2 separate regions of the Homo sapiens genome follow, and region 1 is linked to region 2. Evidence: promoter capture Hi-C in human tissues and cell types (Jung and others, 2019). All regions are on one chromosome and are shown on one strand. The core of a region is centred on a gene start or on the middle of the fragment in contact, and the rest is flanking DNA. Distances in the headings are between cores, read along the strand shown.

Region 1 (5,157 bases), core at 1,934-4,433, 51 kb after region 2:
GGAGGCAGTTCATTTTCAAATAGTGAGGGCTCTATGAGTACTTACTCAATTAAAATGATAATTTAATTATCTTCAATTGCCATATATGATTGGGGGAATCTATTTAAAGTTTTTGCCCCATCCCCACTGTTCTTCCCTTTGCCTTCTTTTTAAAATACCACATATTCCTGGTGAGTATTCATTTTGCCCTGTTCAAGGGTGATACATCAACTTACTGATCTCCCCGGAATGTTCATTTCATGGATGAATGAAAATAGTGATGCTCATTGTATTTCAGGTGCTTTACCCCATCTAAATGATGAGCAGCTTTATGAGTAGGGGAACTTAGAATTGTGTTATTATTCAGATCTCCACAGTTACTAGAAAGCCTGAGTAACATTCAGGAAGTTCCAAAATCCAGGCTTTATGTTGTTGGGAGTCCCTATTTATCAGGAGCCTGGGCCAGTCCCTGGAGGCCCAGGAACAGCCTGGAGGCAAATGCATAGGTACAGCATTGTGTCTGAATTTAGGATGAGGAGGCTCAGTCCTCAGGCTTTGGTGAAAACCCCCCTTAATTCTGGTCACTCTTAAAGATACCCCACTAATACTGACTGGTACAGGCTTCCATCGTATTGAATGTGTGCCACGCGCCTAGCACAGCCCCTGGCCCATCATAAGCACTCAAATATTAGCCATCATTTTGCATTCTTTTAAGACCATGCATCTTCTCCTACTTCTAATCAAGTTTCCACTGCTGCAACATAGACGTCCTCAGGTTTCTCCCCTGCTCAAAAACGTTCAGTGACTATTAGTTCCACCAGTGCTTCTCAAAGTGTATCAGAATCACCTGGGTTTTTTTTTTGCACAATTGCAGATTTTCAGGCTTTACTCCAAACCTACTGTATTAGACCCTTGAGGAGTTGGGTCTGGGAATTTGAATTTATTAACAAGCTCCACAAGTGTTTCTTACATACTCTACCAATAATTTGAGATTCCCCGACATGTTGCACAGTATGCACATACCTTTACATGGCATTTATTACCCCTTAAAACCTGGCCCCAACCATCCATCCAGTCTTATTGCCTGCCATACAGTATTATTGACACTCCCTTATCAGGAAAACTTGTGAAAGACTTTGAAATGAGAAAAAAACATCCTGGATGTGGATATTGTATCTATCATACCATTGTGGGTTATATCTGCCTTTCATTGTGTTTGAGTTATTTTATAATTCTGTTAGTTGTAGAAAAATTGGTAATGATGCAAACAATTCCTTCTGTAGAAAAGCAACTGAATTTTGTTATGTGAAATGCAACTGATTATTTCTCTGTGGATAAATCAGTTTACATCTACTTTTAAATTCATTTCAGCATTCCTTATTGCCTACATATGTGCATGGATTTATTTGAATTATCCTTTGAACTGGCTGTAACATCTTACAGGTTCCCTCATTAATTAATAAATTAAATAAGATCTTTGACACGTGTTCATTTTATATTTGCATGAGGTTATAAGTTTACCTTAAAATAATTATTCTTTATACGCTGAACTACACTGTAGTAGCTTCAGACTCTCTGCTGTGGTACAGTTTCCTTTCCCTCCTTGCCGTGACCCTCCCGTTTCCCTGACCACCAGTTTCTTTGGTGAAGTCCCTCTAACCCTTCAAGGTCCCACAGAGTTGCCAAGTGTCAGCTTCTCTGTCAAGCTGTTCTTCATCCATCCTTCCATCCCCAACTGCCCAACTCAGACTCAGTACCTCCCAACCCCTGACTCACATCTTGTTAGAGCATTTCTCACACCAGATTCCTGTAACAGTTGCTTCAAAAACTGAGAATGCAAGCATGGCCATTTCTCTACTTGACCTTTCTGTACTTCAGTTTCCTTATCTATAAAGTGGAGATAATAACAGCACTGACTTCATAGGGCTATTGTTAAGATTAAATGAGTTAATCCATGTAAAACACTTAGTGTATTGCCTGGTGCATAGTAAGTGTTGAATAAATGTTACCTGTCAATATTCTTGATTATATTTTCCTTTCCTTTTTTTTTTTTTTTTTTTGAGACAGAGTCTCGCTCTGTCACCCAGGATGGAGTGCTGTGGTGTGATCTTGGCTCACTGCAACCTCTGCCTCCCAAGTTCAAGAGATTCCCCTGCCTCAGCCTCCTGAGTACTGGGATTACAGATGCGTGCCACCACACCAGGCTAATTTTTGTATTTTTAGTAGAGACGGGGTTTCACCATGTTGGCCAGGCTGGTCTCGAACGCCTGACCTCGTGATCCACACCCCTTGGCCTCCCAAAGTGCTGGGATTACAGGCATGAGCCATCGCACCTGGCTATATTTTTTCTAATTAATTGCTTGATAATCTACATGTCTCAGATGCAAAGACTACTACTGTCTACAAAAACTGTCTTCCTTAGATTATATTTCCTGGCCCTGCTTCCAGCTAGGTTTGATCAGAAATGCCCTATGTGCATCTCAAGCCTGGTCCATAACAATTCCCACATGTGCTCCTCCAAACCATTCTCTGTTTCCTTAAGGCTGCAATGGAGACTTCAATGACTGGAGTAACCCTGAAAGCCACAGATCAAAAATACAGATTTCCTACTGTGTCTGGAATTTGTTCCTTCCGGTGGGTTCTTGGTCTTGCTGACTTCAAGAATGAAGCCACAGACCCTTGCGGTGAGTGTTACAGCTCTGAAAGATGGTGTGTCTGGAGTTTGTTCCTTCAGATATTCAGGTGTGTCCAGAGTTTCTTCCTTCTGGTGGGTTTGTGGTCTCACTGACTTCAGGAGTGAAGCTGCAGAGCTTCGCAGTGAGTGTTACAGCTCTTAAAGGCAGCACATCGGGAGTTCTTTGTTCCTTCCAGTGGGTTCGTGGTCTGTTGACTTCAGGAATGAAGCCACAGACCCTCGCAGTGAGTGTTACAGCTCATAAAGGTAGTGTGGACACAAAGAATGAGCAGCAGCAAGATTTATTGTGAAGAGCAAAAGAACAAAGCTTCCACAGTGTGGAAGGGGACCCGAGTGGGTTGCCACTGCTGGCTCGGGTGGCCAGTTTTTACTCCCTTATTTGACCCCGCCCACATCCTGCTGATTGGTCCATTTTACAGAGTGCTGATTGGTGCATTTACAATCCTTTAGCTAGACACAGAGTGCTGATTGGTGCATTTACAATCCTTTAGCTAGACACAAAAGTTCTCCAAGTCCCCACCTGACCCAGAAGCCCAGCTGGCTTCACCTCTCAATCCCCCCTCCAAACAGGACACCCCAGCTGCTGTTGGGATTTGGCGATGACCGCTGTAGCTACTTCCTGCTGGATAGGGGTGAAGAAGGGGCCCTGCAGTGGTAGTGTCCTCCAGAGGGGAGCTCTTTAGGCCATTGAAAGGGCCAGCGGGTCGGTCCAGGGGTCCTCAGCAGAAGTTGTTAGTTGAGCTCATTTGGGGTTACATTTGTAAGATCATCTGTAGCTTGATGGCCTCGATCCTAGAGGAAACAAATTTGACCAAGAGGTTAAAAATACAGGGCCCAAATGCGACTATTAGCAAGATGGCTGTCACAGGACCTAGAAAGGGGAGAAGCCATGTCGCCCAACTCCAGAGGTTGGTATAAGAGTTTGAAAGGCATTGTCTGATTTCAGAAGCCTTTTCCTGTAAACACTGGGTGGTATCTCATACTATCCCTGACTGGTTAGTATAAAAACAACACTCTACCCCTAAGAAGGTGCAGAGTCTTCCTTTCTCAGCAGTGAGGAGGTCTAGGCCTCAGCGGTTTTGGAGAGTCACTGCTGCCAAAGAGTCTATTTGGGATTGTAGAGTAAGGACAGATTTCGTCTCTTTTTTGCAAACTGTCTGAGAAATCCTTTGAGAGAGTGTGTGGTAGTAGGATAATACATGTTACGCTGTTAACTTTTAGCAAACTTTACTTTAGTTGAAAACCTTGTAAGTTTGAGATTTTAATTTTCTTTGCTATTAATAAAACCTCGTTCAGTCCATATTAACTTAGAATTGGTATAGATGGCTCCTTCCTGATTCTGTAAGTACTTTAAGGTTTAGCTGAGTGCAAACAGCAAACAGCTTCAACGTTTGAGCAGACCACTTATTAGGCAATTTTCCTAACTCTGCTTCTATAAGAGTTTCCTTATCACTTACTGAATACCCATTGTGTCTTTTTCCTTAATCACCTGGGAGGAACCATCTATCATCCTGTCCTGAAGGCAGTTCCTCCTATGTCTGGTCCGACCTTAAGATTTAGATTCCCTGTTAGGAAACCTGCTGTGTTAAGGATTTTTGATAAGAAGGCTACGGGTTGTCAGTGGCCTCAGTGCTTTTGGGCTATACCCTTGTTTACACTGACAACAAGGTGGTATTGGAGTATTATAGGGTTACAGAAAAGGCCTTCAATTATCAATTATAGGTTTTAAATTTAACCTGGCTTTTAAAGGAATAGGGTACACTGTTTTTTCTTTACTACTTCTCTTTCCCTCTCTTTGACTCCTTCTTTGTCTCTTCCTCTCTTTGCTTCTCTCTTTCTGTCTCTCTGTCTCTTCCTCTGTCTCTCTCTGTCTTTCCCCCTCTCTCTCTCCTCTCTTTTCTTTCTGACTCCCTCTTTGCTATCACTTCCTATCTCTCTTTCTCTCTCACTTTCTGCTCTTTCTCTCTTTCCTTTCTGCTTGTCTTTCCCTGCCTCTGCCAGCCACTTATGCTGCAGTTCTCCCCTCTCCTTCCCCTTTTGATGGCTTCGGCAATGTAAGACCGCCACCTCCTTGGGTTTTTGCACTGTGTGCAATAACTCCATAGTTTCCTTGTGATATTTAATGGGGGTTCACCCAGAAGTTAGGAATTCCCTTTCTTTCCATATCGCAGCATGGGCATGTAGGATTAGGTAAGCATACTTACTATCTGTAGCAAAGTCTCCCAGTTACAACTGAGGAGGTGGGAGAAATACCTGGATATAGGCTGTCCCAGGATTCCTCGGATGGTAACAGACCTTGAGGACAGCTGTCCAGGACAGGAGGTTAACACTGAGAAAGCCGCACCAGTGTCCAGTAGGAAGTCAATTTCCTGGCCCTCAATGGTTAAATGTACCCAGGGCTCAGTGAGGGTGATGACATGAGCTGGCGCTAACCCTGAGCACCCTCAGTCCTGTGGTTGGATCATCTGCTTGGGGGCTTCTGG
Region 2 (5,183 bases), core at 2,410-4,909:
GTCATTCAAATAGATTATAGCAGAATATTTTCTTGCTTAACATTACACTGAACTATTCAAATAAATACAACTTGAATTAGAGTCTGTATCTTTGATTATTATATTTCAAATATATTTTCCTATTCTCAATCCCAAGTCCTTTAGTCTAGCTTTGGGTGAAAAATCAATGTTCCTTTTGTTTTACCTGTGTAAGGAAGGAATGGCTTGTTATTCTGAGTGCTTTATTCTTTTCAAATGGAAACAGAAGACTGGAATCAATGCTAAGAGAACTGAAGTACCACTTTTGATACTATATTTGCTTCTGCATTTCTTCCCCCAACTATCAATCTTCTATCCTCAAGAAACATTTGAAGAACATTTTTATTCCCTGGCGAAATCCCTATAGTAGAAAAAAAGCTAAGTTACCATGGAGCCAACCAATTAATTTTGACACCTGCTTACCAAGATTGATCAATCATTTTTAATGTCTGTTTGTAAGGTTGCTATCCTTCAGTTTAGAAAAAGATTTTCAAGATAGTTAGTGAAGTGAGATTTTCTAGTTAAAGCCTTTCCCACTGTGTTATTACTTCAAATGCCAGGTAAAACAAGCTACTATCTTCAAATAAACCTTTCATAGGTTTATTTGCATGTACTTTACCAAGAAGAATTCTTTTCTACTATACATAATCCTTCTCTTTAACATTAAATACCAATGTGTTCTTTATCCCCAAGAGTATACATAATAAAAACACAGATCGTTACACCAGTTATATTTACTCTAATTAATAGCTTGTATTCCACAGAGAAATGCAAAAGCATTTACCCAATAGAGTACAATGAGTCCTAGGAAATAATAGCTTCCAAGGAAAAGATGAATACTCAGTGATTAGCTCAGGATTTATTGTTATTTAACAATATCTACATCAAATATCTATTCTTCTTCTACTCACTAATGTATTTTGTTTATGAACACCACCTCTCAATGTTATTTAAGCTAGTTTTAACTTGATCTGTGATCTTTTTAACTGGGACAACATCTGCTAGTGAGGTCACAGGCTGCTGATCCAGCTGATTAACAAGTTCCGCTACTTTAAAATGAAGCTTCTCAGGACTGCAGCAAATTTTGTCCTCTTTAGACAAACGGAGCAAACCCACCCACACAAAAGCCAATATCCCTACATATAAATCAGGCACTCTCCCTATTTATGTAAAAAAAATGTAAAAAATGGATGAGGCTTTTTCACTGCTGACTACCAGTTTACATGTTCAAAATTCTCTCTTGCTAGGTAAAGACGCTGAATTCTACTGTCATAGCAAACGTTTAAGAACACAAGCAAAAAAAAACAACTAACAAGCAGAATTCATTAAGATCTCTTTCCTCATCTTGAAACACTTTTTAAACTTTTAATCAGCATCTCTCCTAATTTTTTTAAAAAGTATTTTTAAAACTACATTACTATACTACCTTTAAAGTATAAACCCTAGAAAAATTTCAACCTATTGCATAAGTTTCATAAAACTTCACTTTAAGATTTCACTTCCAAAACCTACTAGTTAATTTAAATCATAGACTCTACCTAAAATTTTAAAGTGCCATTTTAAAAATATACATTTTTACATTGAGTTTTAAGGGACATTTATTTTAATCAGTAATAGTAAGTTTTTTTTTAAAAAAAAAAAAAAAGGAAAGTATGCTGTGTTTAAAATTCCAGGAAATTGTCCTAGAATACATTAATAAGGTGAACCAGTCTTACCTTTGCCTTAGAGCCCAAGAGAAATTTCACCTAGATTTTGGCTATCAGCCTAACAATATCAGTAATCTACAATATTCAAGAGCCACAAACCAGCCAGCAAACTTCATATTAAGTATCTAGAAGACTAAGAAGCTGACTTTCTTAATGACTGTTACCTGCATGTTGTTAGAAGCCTGCCCCAATATTAAGTGACTTTTGCTACTCCCCTACACTGTGACCCATTGCTTTTTATATCAGGCAAGAATGTAATAAACACCAACCAGTACGAAGAAAGTACCTTCACCTTAGCAAGCAAACTTCTTAGGCTCCTTGAGCTTCAAACAAGCCAAAGCGATGTTCCCGCACAAAAGCTGACAGTGAATTAACCGATCAGAAAAAAATCCATTATCCTCACCACATAAAAACGTCCTTCTATCTAACCTAAAGTCACCTTTGTATTTCTCAATTCAAGATTGTCCTAGCAAATACAACACAGCAAATTCGTTAAAAGTACACATTCTGGAGTGTGTACTGGCTCCAGAATGTGCCAGCTGATTTGGAATCATAACTCGGCCCTTACTACTGTGTAATCCTGGCCAAGTTACTTCAATGTATCGCCTCGATTTCTCTCCGTAAATCCAGCATAATAATTCTAGCAACTCACAGAGTTGTTGTAGGGAATAAATGAGAAAATTGACATAAAGCGCTTAGAAGAGTGTTTGGCACTTAGCAAGTCCATCATAAACTCTACTTATTAACATCACTATGATGACTAAATAAATGTTAGAAGGGGTCACCTCTAGAGAGAAGAGAATGGGGAAAGAGAGAGGCACTCATAGATCATAACTGAACCTTTACACTTTTGTGAATTTTTCACAATGCGCATGTATTTCATAAGTAACTTGGACAATTTCTGATTTTTAAATATTATCCCAAGAAAATGGTGCTGGGCATCATAACTGATTGTGAAAATGTTCGTGCTGAGCAGCGGATCAGAAGTCGCTGCGGACATCTGGAACGCTCGAGAAATGCCTAGCTCCCCGTTGGTCAGGGCTCCGCGCGGGCCCGAGCTCTCCCGGGGCGCCCCGGGGCTGGAGGGGGCGCGGCGCGGGCCCCACTCTCGCCCGCTCCCGCCGCGCGCTGAGGTTCACTCACGGCCGGGGGATCAGAGGCAGCGACGGGGGCGGGGGAGGCCGCGAGGGGGGCGGGGAAGGCCGCGACGGGAGCGAGGCAGGGCTGGAGGTTCGGGGTCCGGCGAAGGCACTTACTTGAACCTGCCCTGGCAGTGCTGGCACTGGTCCCCCACCCAGCCCGGGTCGCAGAGGCAGGTGGAGTTGACACAGCGGCCCGAGAAGCAGGAGCCGGTCCTCTCGCACGGCTTGGACTGGGACACCTGCGCGTAGAGCGCCAGGTAGAGGAAGCCATAGCACAGCAGCCAGCTGTTCCCGTCCAGCAGCCAGGAGGAGGCGCCCCCGCCGCCGCCGCCCGCCGGCCGAGCCCTCCACACCCCCGGGGCCGCTGGCTGCGGGGTACCAGTGCGGGCCCGGCCCCCAGTCTCCATCTTCCCCGGCGCCCCTGCCCGGCGAGACTGCGCTCGCGGGCGCCGACAGGGATGCTGTTGAAGGGAATTCCGGCCGCAGAAAACCTCTCCGCCGCCGCTTCTCCTCCTCCTCACCGGCGCCCGTCCGAGTCCCGCTCCCCGGTCAGGAGGGACAGATCCCAACCGCCGTCGCCTCCGCTCGGCTGCCTCCAGTCGCACTCGGGCATCGCCACCCAGTCTCCCGACCTTGTCCTTAGCGGGCCGACCCCACAGCCGCGGCGTCCCGGACCCGGCCGGAGGCGGGGAGCGGGAGGCGCAGACTGCGCCCGGCGCTCCTGAGGGGACCTGACCGGCAGGAGGAGGGGACCCCGCGCGCGGCCCCGCCTCGCCCGCGGCCCGCGCCAACTGCCTCGGCTCCGAGCGCCGCGCGCCCAGGAGGGCGGGGGCCGAGCGGGCGCCCCGAAGTGGGCGCGCCCAACGTGGAAGGGGGCGATCAAGGAGGCGGCGGTCAGCCCCGCCTCGCCCGCCCGGCGGTCAAGGGCGCCCCGGCAGCCATTCTGTCTCCGGTGCCTCGAGCCGGCCGCAGCGGCAGCGCCGGGAGCCCACGATGCGTGGGGCCGCCCCCCGCCCTCGCGCGCGCCTACACTCCTCCCCACAGGCCCGGCGCCTTGGTCTCGCCCCGCCCCTGACAGGGACCGGGGACTCCCCCACGCGCGCGCGCCCACCCCGCCTGGCCCGCGCGCTGACTGGAGACAGGCCCCCCAGGTGTGGCCCGCGTGCCCTTCCCCCCGGCCGGTGCGGGCACCCCGGCCCCACCCGCACCCCGCGCCCCGGGAGCCCCACGAATGAGAGATCGACACAGGCTTCGCAGCTTCAGCAGAAAAGAAGTCCTTCCCGTCCGCCGTCTGCAGCTGCAAAAGTGCAACGCTTTTTCCCTAGCGCTTCCCCCTTCCTCCGCCCCATCCTCCTGCCTATTTCTTCTTTTTCTCTTAAGAGAGAAAAACTCCAACAACACACAAAGAGCTGAGCATGTGCAGCAGGCAAAAGCCTTAAAGGCACCGCAGTCCGACCACGTTGTGGGGTCAGCGAGGGCTGGGAGGGGCGGGGATTGGGGACTGCGAGAGGCGCGAGGCGGTCTCCGCGGAGGGACCTCCGAGGGGGAGCCATTGCTGCCTCGGGAATAACGAAGCCCGCGCCCCCAACAAAGAACTGCGAGGCTCCGAGCCCCGCGCTCTCCACCCCTTACAGACGCTGCCTCGAAACCGCACGTCTCTCCTTTTCTGCTTGTCAGTGCTCCCTCCTCCATCTGGGACGATATTCTGCCTTGAAAAATATTGCAGCATCGGGGCTTTTTTTCAGAAGAGCAGAAGTGATGCCCACAAAAGGGCCGTTTTCCTTCCTCAGCAGCACTTTTTCTTCTTCAGATGACTTTCCAAGATTGGCTGGCATATTCTGAGATTTTTGTTTTGTACTTTGGTGCCTTCTCTAAACAGTTGCCTTTTTATTTGACCCCCTTGAGAAAGGAAGCCAAACACACATTGCAGCCATATATCCTCGAGTTACAGCAATGTTGCTGGAGTCCCACCAAAGAACAGGCAGTATGAAAAAGAATTCAAAATCCACCAAAGGCACTTCTCACAGAAAAAAAAAAAAAGAAGAAAGAAAAGTTTGTTGTAACTACATAGTCAAAATATTATTGTTAGGATTCAACTCGTGTTTATTTCGCGTCAGTTCTTTTCATGTCTCTTATCCCCACTTGCAGATGAAATCCTCCATTAACCCCATTTTGCAGATGAGAAAGAGCAACTCAGAAAGGTTGAAATATTGGCCAATGGCAGGTTAGGAGTAATGAACTGAGCTTTAGACACGAGGCCTCTGACTGCTGTGCTTTTTTCACTGCTTCTATTAGCAGATGCTTTGTTCTTCCTTCG

Evidence for each region. Contacts are between HindIII fragments. The study calls those that stand out against the background at their distance.
Region 1: a fragment that was not itself captured here is called in contact with the fragment with the promoter of ATRNL1 in region 2 in 2 of the 25 tissues and cell types used here (H1 embryonic stem cells and pancreas).

What each region holds. Positions count from the first base shown.
Region 1 is chr10:115,040,205-115,045,361 of GRCh38, reverse strand. All of the region lies in intron 2 of LOC107984272 (a long non-coding RNA gene), which reads right to left. Among named protein-coding and RNA genes, the nearest start is that of LINC02626, 48 kb to the right of the region's middle. The HindIII fragment of the contact is 7,889 bases long and covers 1-5,157 here.
Region 2 is chr10:115,091,841-115,097,023 of GRCh38, reverse strand. It overlaps ATRNL1 (attractin like 1), which reads right to left and starts at 3,659. Exons shown (of 29, transcript NM_207303.4): 1 at 2,981-3,659. The coding sequence starts at 3,273. RefSeq lists silencers at 3,089-3,368, 3,459-3,588, 3,619-4,128. The HindIII fragment of the contact is 15,819 bases long and covers 1-5,183 here.